Linked DNA regions of Homo sapiens: all the other regions are linked to region 1. The links are contacts of gene promoters, found by promoter capture Hi-C in blood cells and fetal thymus (Javierre and others, 2016). All regions are on one chromosome and are shown on one strand. The core of a region is centred on a gene start or on the middle of the fragment in contact, and the rest is flanking DNA. Distances in the headings are between cores, read along the strand shown.

Region 1 (3,119 bases), core at 335-2,834:
AAACTGCAATAATGTTAAAATATTCTTCAAACTTTACCCTAAAACTTCTATTTTGGGATACGTCAACGTTTCACAATGCATTTCTTCTTAAACATCATCATCTGAGTTTATACACCTCACTGAATCCAAAAATTAATTATTAAAGAAAAAGTCTCATAGTAATTTTAAGAAATGAAGCAGTCTGGATTAGGTTTCCATCTTCCTTCCCTGCTGCAATTCACTGCAATAATCTACTACACTCAAGACAATGCCCTGATCATTCCATCTGAAAATTCTGCAGGTGTTTTCACTCTGTAAGGGGCATTACATTTTTAGCTAACTCGGAACAAAGAGCACTGGCTCAAACGACCACAGTGTGTAAGGAGAAATGAGAGGAGATGCTCACTGTTACTAAGTAATTGAACATTAAATACGTAATAGCCAGGAAAAACTCAGAAAAGTTTTGGAAATATGACATATTTTAATATGCATGTGAAGTTCATAATTCTCATTCACTAGAATTAACGCCGCATTGGCTCCTTTTCAACAAATGGGGGACGAGGAATTCGGATATTTAATAAAGAAGTTAATTCAAGCAGTTTTACAAAAGTGTATTTTGCACCAAAGGCCAAAAAATGATAAACCGGTTAACATTTTAAACTACAAGTTCCCTTAGATAACGGTTATTTTAATCACTATTTTCTCAGAAGTCATCCTAACAGGTAGCAAAGGCAACGTACCCTTGAAAATAACACCCAAGCAGACTAAAATAATGGAGCATTGTTTTTACAAGACAACTCATCGCCTTAAAATTCCCCAAGTATGGCACAAAAAGAATGGGGTCCACTGACCCCATTCTAAAAAAGCGACCTAGGACCCTAGAAAACACACATTGTTGGACTCAATCACATTCCCTGCTGCTGGCTCCTCCATATTTTTACAACCAGTTATTATACCCGAGAGTGTTTGAATAAAACTACGATTAAGCACTCAGTTTAGGCTTAAAGACTTAACATTAAATGGATAAAGCTGTCATGAACACTCAAGAAAGCGACTAGGGCATCCCGGGCCATCACACTAATTTTGCTACGTCTATTTAATGCAATCTTTTACGTTATTAACAAACATGCATTAACAAAATGCATGCATTAACAAAACTCACATACCAAAGCCATGCCCTGAAGCAGTTTGACACGTCTGAAATAACATTTAAAACAAAACGCTTTTCTGCGGGCCCCTGTTTGAACAGCTTCCAAATCCCAGAAGTAACATCGGATAACAGCCTGCGCTGGCTGTGGTGTGACCAGGGGAAGCGAGGGTGTGTCTCGGTGCTTACCGATGCCTGGGGCCACATAGATGAAGTACAGACAGGACGAAGAGAGGGAGAAGAAGAAGATGAAGGCGAGGAGAGAGCGATTGGAAACCCGCATCATCCGCCTGAGCACAGACATCTTCCTCTTCCCTGCCAGCAGCCCAGGCTGCGCTCTCAGGCCGGACTCGGGGCCACTGTCCAGGCCCTAAACTTCCATAAATGTGCTGAGAACCCCGAGACTGCAGCGGGGTCCGCGCGGGGAGGCTCTGGGGAGAGGGCCCGAGCGGAAAAGAGGAAATGGGAGGGAGCGGACGGAATGAATGGGAGGCCAGAGAGTCGGGGGAGGGGAGGCGCGGAGGCCGAGGGACAAGAGGTGGAGGGGGGAGAGGGGACTGGGGGCTAGGGGCCCGGGGACGGCAGGACGGAAGAAAGCCGGGGAAGGGCGAGGAGGAGCGTTTTCTCCGCCAAGCAGCGGCGGGAGGAGGGGCTGCAGGTGGGAGGAGGCGCAGGCTGCGCGCCGCGGCGCCCCTGCGGAGAGGGGCAGCTAACTGCAGCACGCCCGGCTCCGCTGCCCGCGCCCGGCGGGGTCCCGCCGCGAAGCCCCGTGCTTAAGGTCCGGGCCGCCCGCGTCCGCTCGGCAGGCCCTGCGCCGCCTCCTACTCCGGGCCGCGGCGTCTCCTGCCTGCGCGGGGCTAGCGTGGGCGCCGGGGCCGCAACCAGCGCGCGCCACGCGCGGGGGCCCGCGGGGGCCCTCGGGGCCGAGGAGCTGGGCGCTCGCCTGCACCGAGCCGCCTCCTCATGCCGCGCCGGGCCCCGGCGCCCCGCGGCCGCCGCGGGAGCTGAGCACAGGCCAGGGCGGCGTCCCGGCCAGCGACGAACGCGCTCCGACTCCGGCCGCCGCCAGCTGCCTGCCTGGCCGCAAGGGCGGCAGCGGCATTACCGCCGCGCGCCCGGGGTGAGGCGCCCCCGCCGGGCCCGCGGACACCAGGCGAAGAGCAACCGGGCGACGCGCGCTGCGGGCAGAGCCGGGGAGCCGGAAGAGCAGAGGCCGAGCGCCGTCGGAGCCGCGTCTGGTTGGAGAAAGAGGCGGACGTGAAGGGGCGGGGGAGCCGCGGAGGAAAACCGGGACCGGCGGGAACGTCTCGAGACCCCTGCGCGCTTCGCGCGCTCGCTCGGAACTCGGCAGGCGGCGCTGCGCCGGGCCCCGAGGAAACCTGGAGGTCCCCGCCCTCCCCGCGCCCGAAACACCGCGCGTCCTGATAGGCCCGCGCCCAGCAGCCCCCTCCCCGCGCCCGCCGCACCGGGGCCCCACCGCCTCCTGCGTCACCGCCGCCCCCGCCCGCCCGGGGACCCCGCGGTGACCGCGCTGCTGGGGGTTGAGGGACGCGTTGCGAGCCCCGGATACATTGTACCCTGGGGGTACATAATGAAGGATGCTGTACCTGAAAGGAAAAGGGCATCTCCAAAAGGGGACTTCGCGGGTGGAATTTCCTTCCAAAATCCTCGAGGAACAAGGTGTATTTCCGACCTGGATTAATGAATCCCCCCTCCTATCCCGCACTTCCTGTGGAAACAGTGTCAGGATGTGGCGCGGACCTATGTGCGTCCCTTATACCAGGACTTGCCTTCAACGCTGAAGGTGAACCCTGGGTCATCCTCGCTGTATTCAGGCGGCGCTGCAAAGGCTTCTGGGCAGCCAATAGGCCCTTGAGCGCCTCAGCCCCATCTTGCTTCAGTAGGCAAACGGACGGGTGTCTTCATCCACCTCCTAGGCCGTGGTCTACCCTTCGTTCAAATGTTTCTTCCTGCTAGCTGACTGTCCAGGTCC
Region 2 (3,119 bases), core at 429-2,928, 180 kb before region 1:
GTAGCTGGACACTAGAGCCATAATAAGATGACTACAAAGAACCCAGCTCCATACGTCCATATCTGCTTGCCAGGAGGCACAGAGCTCTGTTTCACTTCCTTCTTTCAAATCTCATGTAAATACTAATTGAACCCAAACCCCATTCAGAACGAAGCCTGCAGTGGAGTCTGTGACACATGGTCTTTCGCTTTCCTCAGCAGTGCAGGGAGACACACCAGAAGGTAGCTGTGTCACCCACATAGCTATCAAACATTTAGGCCAGCTGTATCAAAATGGGAAAAAGAAATAATTTTCTGAATAAAATCAGAGAATATTTCCTCTTCAAGGGTTCTTTGCAATCCATCAACTCCCAAATGGTTCACAGATAGAATTCAAAGAGTTCCTAGAGATGGCAAGGAATTAATTACATATATATTTTAACTAACTTCGGACTGAAATTTAGTATTTCTTTAAATTATGAGTGTGGGGAAGACACTGCACAGTAGTGTGAGCAGTAGCTGTGACTATCACAATAGAATTCATAAATACCTTTACATCTTATGGTGATCTCAAAATACCATTTATTCTGAACATCACTAATAGACTTTCTACTAGATCTTTTACTTAATATGTTAATAAAATACATGATACTGCTGCATCACAAATTGGTATTTTAAAAATGCTGATAACTATTTCAATATAATTGGGTTCATTGATAATCCCCTGTATTTTATTTTATACATTTGAAATCATTAATCTGAGAAGGGGTTCATAGGCCTCGCCAGATTGCCAAGGAGGGCTCGTGGGTGAGAGATTTCCTGATGGTTGCTTCAATTTTGGGTTCGACTAATGAAGCTTGTGCTTTAAAATCAAACTACATTTTAAGGATTCAATGATAGCAGATCACACTGTGAGCAGATATATTTAGTAGGGTATTAGTTTGCTAGGACTGCTGTAACGAAGTGCTAAAAACTGAGTGGCTTAAAACAACAAAAATGTATGATCTCACAGTTCCAGAGGCTAGAAATCCAAAATCAAGATATGGGCAGGGCCATGCTCCCTCTGAAACCAGTTTCCCTCCTTTCCTCTTCCAAGTGCATACTGGTTTGTTGGCAATCTTTGTCATTCCTTCTCTTGTAGGTGCATTCATTACTCCAATCCTCCATCTGCGCATGGCATTCTCTCTTTTGTCTCTTTATATCATCTTCCCTCTGTGCATGTCTGTGTCCTTGTCCAAATTTCCCCATTTTATAAGAACATCGGTTGTACTGGATTATGCCCCAAAATAATGACCTCAGCTTGGTTAAATCTGCAGAGACCCTATTTCCAAATAAGCTCACATTCTGAGGTACTGGTGGTTAGCACTTCAATATATTATCTTTTAGGGGTCATAATTTGATCCATAACAAGTGGATTCAAGTATCTATAAATTATCAATAATATCAGAGTTATGCTTAGTGTTCTAATATACAACTGAATAATATATATTAAAGAATACATTAAAGTATAAATTAGATGGTGAATATTGAAGCCATAAGAATAATCAATTATCATATCCAAGGATTTTAGAAACATGGATTTCTTACTGGTTTTTGTTTCTAAAAGTTAGTAGGTAATGGGAAAATGGCAGCTCTTAACAGAAATTTTCTTTAATTATAACTTAAGGCAAGTACTTTACAAAGAGATATGAGCATTCATTGGCCTACGTACTCTCTGATTATTAGAAATCCCCGATAAGCTAAATTAAAGTTTCCAAGGCTAATATTCTGTGGTGTGTGAGTGTAGTGAGCCCTGGGGCGGGCTCACTACAATATAAATATGTATTTATAGAAACTTCCCAATTGATCTAATTGTCAGACAAGTGTAAGCGTGAGAATTACTGGTCTATATTTTGCAAAAAAATCTATATTTATGACATAGAAAAATTTACATGGGAAAAATTACACATTGAATAGGGATAAGTGTTTTTGAAAACTGCCAAATTATATTTAAAATTAGAAACTTTAGGCTGGGCACAGTGGCTCACGCCTGTAATCCCAGCACTTTGGGAGGCCAAGGTGGGCGGATCACCTGAGGTCAGGAGTTTGAGACCAGCCTGGCCAGCATGGTGAAACCCCATCTCGACTAAAAATACAAAAAATTAGCTGGGTGTGGTGGCACATGCCTGTAGTCCCAGCTACTCAGGAGGCTGAGGCAGGAGAATCGCTTGAACCTGGAAGGCGGAGGTTGCAGTGAGCCGAGATTGTGCCACTGCACTCCAGCCTGGGTGACAGAGGGAGACTCTGTCAAAAAAAAGAAGGAAGGAAGGAGGGAAGAAAGGAAGGGAGGGAGGGAGGAAGGAAGAAAGGAAGGAAGGAACTTTAACTGAAAGCATAAAGGACTTTTAGATCTATTTGAGCAATTTTTAATCACAGCTTTTTTCCCTTGTCTTTCACTCTGACACAGATTTCAATAGCTTTGACAACAATTTATAAACATATAGTCTACATATGATGAGAAACTATCTTCTCAGTTTTGTTTTTTATTAAGTTTTTGTCATATGCAAAGCTTGGTGATTAGAGTGAAGAAGCTGGAACAACAGAATTCCTACCGTGGTCGATAGTGAGATGAGAAATGTCCATAAGAAAAGAAACCAGACACATGACCCCTATTTAGTGAATCCCTGCTTGATGCTAGGCAATGTGCTAAACACTGGAGAACTATAAAAAAGCCAGACATGTTCTGCCCTCATGGTGCTTACAGTCTAATGAATGGTATAACAAGTAAATGGCTAACTTCCAAATGGGTAACGATAAGAAGAGTAATAATAGAGAAACGTAGTACCATGGAGCCTATAGAAGGAGCAACTATCTCAGCACTGGGTATCCCAGCTGGTATCTGAGAATAATTATAAATTAGTGAGATGATATGAAGAGAAATAGATTCTAGGTAGAGAGAAGAGCATCTAAAAGGCCTGAAAATGATAGTTCATGGTTCTGCAGAGGAACCTAAACATTCATTGTTGCTTGAACTTAGAAAGTGAGGCAGAAGAATGTATAGGAAGATAGGCCTTCAAGCCAACAGAAGCCCAGAAAAGCTACTTGCCAAGGAAGTGTTTTCAGGGAGGTATTCACATCACTAAGTAAATGAAAAGATGGGCT
Region 3 (3,119 bases), core at 453-2,952, 130 kb before region 1:
CAGAGTTGCTGCTATAAGAGAAGAAAAACAAATTTTCTTCTAGGTCCCCAGCTGGGGCTCTGTAACAAAACACAGATTAACAAGAGAAAAACAAACATTAGTCTGTTAACATGTGTATCTCATGCATGCTTTGGAGTAACTGGAATGAGCAGCTCAAAGGGGTGGTTAGAACTTGGGTGTAAAATGTTAAAAGAAGAGCTTTAAACAAATTAAATCTAACAGTTTACTTAAGCAAAGAAAGGTTCACAAAATTGGGCTGCCCTGGAACTAGAAAAGGTTCGGAGAACTCTATTCTACAATAATGAGCAGGCCGTATTCATAGACAGAAAATGGAAGTGAGGTAGGGAAGCTGCTTGATTGGTTACAGCTGAGCCTTTGCCTTATTTGGAGGTGGGCTGATCAGTTGGCAGCCAGTGACTGGCTGAAACTCAGCTGCTGTGATTGATTGACGCTCAGCTATGTATTACAAAAATATACTCCTAAATTAGGCTTTCAGTTCATTTATGTACCAAGCTAGGCTGCAGTTCGTCATGTGGGGACTCAAGGTATGGAGGCAGCCTCAGGCCCAGTTTAATTTAATAATATACCAACTTGGGCTAAAACATAGGAAAGGGGATTAGGGGCTTCTGGGCAGGGGAAACAAGTTATGGGAAGGTGACCAGGAAAAGTCTGGTAAGCTTGAGTAAGATTTGTCATGCAGATTTAAATTAATCTCTTTGTCACTTATAGTCATCCCGTGTTTCCGGTACGGAGGGAGACAGCCTTACAAATGGACATTTCCCTTATAAATGTAAATCCCTTTACAAAAGGTAAACTTACGTTCTGTCTTCAGAGTTTCTCCTGCGTCTGCTATTTCTCAAAATAATCAGCTCAAAATAATCCTTATACTAAAAACGTATTTTGGGGGCTGTAGCATATTCTAGTCGACACTGCCGGTAAACTGGAATGTCTCATGAATGAAGATTTCACGACAATGGCACATCAGAACATCCTAAAGCATGAAGACTGGTTTATTCCTGCGTGACTTCAGTTCCCACTCCCAGTGGCACATGGAGCTAATTCTGGTTGATCTCTGCAGACCATATTCCAATCACCACCACATCAAAATGTCTACAGTAGGACGTTGCTAACCAAATATCACCTAAAAATGAGACATTTCAGATCATTAAATCTGACTTTCTTAAAGGACCAAAATTTATTAGTTTCATTATGTTTTATTTTAATCCTCTATATCATTCCCAATTACTTTGTCTACTGTTTCCATTAATTACTAAGAGGTTGAAGTCTCCCAAGTGTGGCTTTGCTTATTTCCCCCTTTAATTCTTTCTATTTTTGTTTCCTGTGTTTTGAAACTTTTTGCCTGTGTTATTAGGTACAAGTACATTTAGGATTACTGTGTTCCTGAAGAACTGATCTTTTTATCATTATGAAATGCCTCTCTTCATCTCTGTTTATAACTGCTAATTACCTTTAGCCTAAAGCTGCCTCCTTACATTCTTTTCCTTTTTTTTTTTTTTTTTTTTTGAGACGGAGTTTCAAGTGAGTGAAATGGCGCAAACTCGGCTCACCACAACCTCCGCCTCCCAGGTTCAAATGATTCTCCTGCCTCACCCTCCCAAGTAGCTGGGGTTACAGGCATGCGCCACCACGCCCAGCTAATTTTGTATTTTTAATAGAGACGGGGTTTCTCCATATTGGTCAGGCAGGTCTCAAACTCCCGACCTCGGGTGATCCGCCTGCCTTGGCCTCCCAAAGTGCTGGGATTACAGGCGTGAATTACCACACCTGGCCCTTGTTACATATTTTAAGTTTGGCCTGAAGGTTTCTCCATACTTAGTGAACTATAACCTAACTGGATGTGTAAACAGACTGTAACCTACTCTTGTCTGAGGCAATCACGGCCGCAATACTTCAACCACTCACAGGCAGCCAACTGTTCAAACTGCATTCAAATAAGGCAAACCCTGAGCTGTAACCAGTCCTGCTATTCTGTACCTCACTTCCTTTTTCTATCCATAAATCCTCTCTGACCACGTGGCAGCACCAGCGTGGCTCTGAATCTACTCCGGTTTAGGTACTGCCCAATTTGCAAATTATTCTTTGCTCAATTAAAGTTTGTAAAATTTGTTTATATATTTATTTATTTTATTATTTTGGAGATGGAGTCTCACTCTGTCACCCAGGCTGGAGCGCAGTGGCAGAATCTCCGCTCACTGCAACCTCCGCCTCCCAGGGTCAAGTGATTCTCCTCAGCCTCCTGAGTAGCTGGGCTGGGATTACAGGTGTACGCCACCACACCAGGCTAATTTTTGCATTTTTTTTTTTTTTTTTTTTTTTAGTAGAGATGGGGTTTCCCCATGTTGCCCAGGCTGGTCTCGAACTCCTGGCCTCAAGTGATCCACCAGCCTCAGCCTCCTAAACTGCTGGGATTACAGGCGTGAGCCACCACACCCAGCCAACTTTGTAAAATTTAATTTGCCTGAAGTTTTTCTTCTAACACATTCTTTGTCTTGAAATCTACCTTGCCTAACATTAATACAGCCATACCAGCCTTCTTATGGTTAGTGCTTCCGTGGTATATCTTTTTGATCCTTTTGCTTGACACCTGTCTGTGCCTTTATAGTACATTTATTGTAAACAATATACAGGTAGGTCTTGGCTTTTCCCATTTTGACAATTTCTGACTTTTATCAGAAGGTTTTACAACAATTATTTATATGGATAAGTTTAAGCTTCCATCTTTGTATTTGTTTTATCTTTGTCCACCTGGGTTTTCTGTTGGTTTTTTGGTTTTCTCCACTCTTGTTTCCTGACTTCTTTTGTGTACTGCATGCTTTAGGATTCCACTGTAGCACCTCTGTTGACCTTTCACCTACACCCGCTTGTGTTTACTTTTTAATTGGTTGCTCTTACTGAGGAAATATAACTAACAACAAAATTTCCTCTCAACCTAAAAAACCTTTCCACAAAGTAAAGGAGAAAGAAAACAGTGTCATCATTGAATAAGCATTAAACCCTGAAGGTGAGGCACATCACAGGTAGCTCCTAAAGAAACTGCGGGCCGGGCACAGGGGCTCACGCCTGTAATCCCAGCACTTTGGGAAGCCGAGGCGGGCAGA
Region 4 (3,119 bases), core at 391-2,890, 130 kb after region 1:
CCAGGTCAGGAGTTAGAGACCAGCCTGAACAACATGGTGAAACCCCAACTCTACTAAAAATACAAAAATTAGCCAGGTGTGGTGACGCACACCTCTAGTCCCAGCTACTCGGGAGGCTGAGGCAGGAGAATCGCTTGAACCCAGGAAAGGGAGGTTGCAGTGAGCTGAGATCACACCACTGCACTCCAGCCAGGGTGACAGAGTGAGACTCTGTCTCAAAAAAAAAAAAAAAAAAAGATTCTGGGACAAATGCCCATCAACGATAGACTGGATAAAGAAAATGTGGCACATATACACCATGGAATACTATACAGCCATAAAAAAGAATGAGTTCATGTCCTTTGCAGGGATACAGATGAAGCTGGAAACCATCATTCTCAGCAAACTAACACAGGAACAGAAAACCAAACACTGCATGTTCTCACTCATAAGTGGGAGTTGAACAATGAGAACACACGGACACAGGGAGGGGAACGTCACACACTGGGGCGTTCCCCCAGGGCAAGGTTGGGGGCAAGGGAAGGGATAGCATTAGGAGAAATACCTAATGTAGATGAGGAGTTGATGGGTGCAGCAAACCACCATGGCACATGTATACCTATGTAACAAACCTGCACGTTCTGCACATGTACCCAGAACTTAAAGTATTAAAAAAAAAAATGACTCCGAGAGACGAGAATTGAGGGGATAAGTGGTCAACAATAACAATACTAAACTCAGCCAAATTAACTGCTGTATTAAAAATTGGGTTTCAATAATAAAATGTGGCACATCAAACCAGCCTGCCCCTATAAAAATATCAGGTTGATCTATTCATCAAACAAATATTTTTGAACATATAGTCTATGCCCAGGCACTGCACAAAATCCATAGGTATAACATGATGAACAACATGGCTTCCTGCTAGGATCTTAAACACTCAGAGGGGACAACACACCTTACTGGCAATGGCAACATAGTTTTATTAGTTAGGGTATGTTCAGCAAAAAAAATCAATAGGTTTAATAAAATTAAACTTTACTTCTTTTGCACAAAAGTCCAGATAGACAGTCCCAGGCAACTATGTAGACTCCACAATCATCGGGACGATGGGCTTCTACTAAATTGTTGCTCTATCATCGACACATGGCTTCCACCTTGTGGAAGATTCCCAGTAATGGGAGATCTCTCAAGAACCCACAAAACATTCCCTGGTGCCCAGAGACCATCAATGCCAGGTTATCACAGTACCGGTGAGGTAAGGCGTTCCTACACCCTTGCTACTCCTACTTAGGTACTTTTACCAAATTCTGGAAGATTCAGAGTCAGCCAAGTATATTAACACAGGAAGGAGAAGCACACAGTAGAAAAATGGAGAAGTTGGCCATCTTCCTCCCAAACTGAAAGCTTCCCAGGAGAGAAGCCAATGTTAACTTTATGAAATTCAGAATGCTGGTTATTAAAGTTCTTGGAAATTTTAATTATTGAAATTGAGGCTCTTCTTGAGATTTAAAGTGATCAGAGGGCATTGGTCAAAAGAGTTATGGTACCCAATATCTCATTCATCAGTTCATTTCTTCTATTCAATTCAACAAGAATTTCTAGTATGTGTCCTGCATTGTTCTAAGTATTAAGGAATGATATGAAAGAAACAAATCTCACAGTTGATGTGCCAAGCCCCAAGTTTACAATCAAAATAAAGCCTAGAATCTTGAACAGAATTGGTAACTTAAAATAGTGCGGTGGTTGCTATAGAGTGTCGACCTTAAAGAGATTCAAGAAATATGGTTAAATATAGCATTTAGTCAAGCACAAATTTTAAGGATAGGCATCCAGGAACACAGATTCCAAAGAATGGAAGCCAGTGCTCCAAAGTGGAGAAGTTTTGGGGGTCATTTATATAAATAAGGTTTGGGAAGCTTAACAATGTTTCAACATTTTCCACACAAGGCTAGCACACAGTTACAGTAATCTGATTAATTGAGGTGGTGTTCTTTTTGGGAAAGGTATATTTAACATTCCACATTGAGGATATAACAATCATGGAGTCTTCCGCACCATCTGATCTGAGTTAGATGCAAGATAATAAAGGAGGAAAGGCTAGCCATCATCAGGAGGGGGAGGTCTTATGTCTGGCACCATTTAGTCTTTCCTAATTGATTTGCAGAACAAGAACAACGAGAAAGAATGAATCTATAACCTGAGAAGCAGAAATTGCAGCCACATGCATGTGCTCAGACCACACAGTCACATTTCCTTTAAGGCTCAACATAATTTTTAGGCTTCTAAAAATTATAATTAAGTTTGAATTATTTAGGTTTCATACAGCCATTTGAAATCACATCTATTAGAGGGACTTACAGAGGGACTTACGAAGTTCAAATGGAATTTAAGTAAATCATGTTTTAAAATGATACATTTTTTGAGAACTTATTACTGTCAGTCACTGAGCTAAGAAATGTATGGAATTAGGTCAGCCGATCGTCAAAACGACCCATTGAAATAGGAATTATTGTTGCTACACTATACAGATGAAAAAACTCAGATGGCTGGTTAAGTTACTGCCCCAAAGTCTTATATTTGGTAAGGAGGAAAGCCATGGATTGAAAGCTGGGTAGTGTGATTTAGGAACCTTTCAATACTAGCTGTTCCAAGGCAATCTTGTTTGCAGAGATGACAGCCTGTATTAGTCTGTTTTCACACTGCTGTAAAGAAATCCCCGAGACTGGGTAAATTATAAAGGAAAGAGGTTTAATTGACTCACAGTTCTGCACGACTGGTGAGGCCTCAGGAAACTTACAGTCGTGGTGGAAGGTGAAGGGGAAGCAAGGCACCTTCTTCACAAGGCAACAGGAGGGAGAATGAACGCAGGAGGAACTACCGAACACTTATAAAACCATCAGATCTTATGGGAACTCACTCACTATCACAAGAACAGCATGGGGGAAACTGCCCCTGTGATTCAATTACCTCCACCTGGTCTCTCCCTTGACACATGGGGATTATGGGGATTACAATTCAAGATAAGATTTTAGGTGGGGACACAGCCAAACTATATTATAGCCTGTTATTCGCAAGTAAACTCATACATCCAAAAACGTATTATTGTTTAGAAAATATTACAACCTACCTTTAAATTC

Evidence for each region. Contacts are between HindIII fragments. The CHiCAGO score rates a contact against its expected background, and 5 or more counts as called.
Region 2: a contact is called between a fragment that was not itself captured here and the fragment with the promoter of B4GALT6 in region 1, in 1 of 17 cell types (fetal thymus). The highest score is 5.2, in fetal thymus.
Region 3: a fragment that was not itself captured here is called in contact with the fragment with the promoter of B4GALT6 in region 1 in 1 of 17 cell types (M0 macrophages); the score reaches 7.2 in M0 macrophages.
Region 4: a fragment that was not itself captured here is called in contact with the fragment with the promoter of B4GALT6 in region 1 in 1 of 17 cell types (M0 macrophages); the score reaches 6.2 in M0 macrophages.

The regions. Positions count from the first base shown.
Region 1 is chr18:31,682,997-31,686,115 of GRCh38, forward strand. It overlaps B4GALT6 (beta-1,4-galactosyltransferase 6), which reads right to left and starts at 1,585. Exons shown (of 9, transcript NM_004775.5): 1 at 1,316-1,585. The coding sequence starts at 1,430. RefSeq lists a silencer at 1,682-2,721. The HindIII fragment of the contact is 10,803 bases long and covers 1-3,119 here.
Region 2 is chr18:31,500,483-31,503,601 of GRCh38, forward strand. All of the region lies in intron 1 of DSG2 (desmoglein 2), which reads left to right. Among named protein-coding and RNA genes, the nearest start is that of DSG2, 3.9 kb to the left of the region's middle. RefSeq lists an enhancer at 1-49. The HindIII fragment of the contact is 1,692 bases long and covers 833-2,524 here.
Region 3 is chr18:31,549,219-31,552,337 of GRCh38, forward strand. DSG2-AS1 (DSG2 antisense RNA 1) reads right to left here. Exons shown (of 6, transcript NR_045216.1): 3 at 820-1,141. Among named protein-coding and RNA genes, the nearest start is that of DSG2-AS1, 6.1 kb to the right of the region's middle. The HindIII fragment of the contact is 2,055 bases long and covers 676-2,730 here.
Region 4 is chr18:31,815,739-31,818,857 of GRCh38, forward strand. No RefSeq gene overlaps it. Among named protein-coding and RNA genes, the nearest start is that of SLC25A52, 56 kb to the left of the region's middle. The HindIII fragment of the contact is 512 bases long and covers 1,385-1,896 here.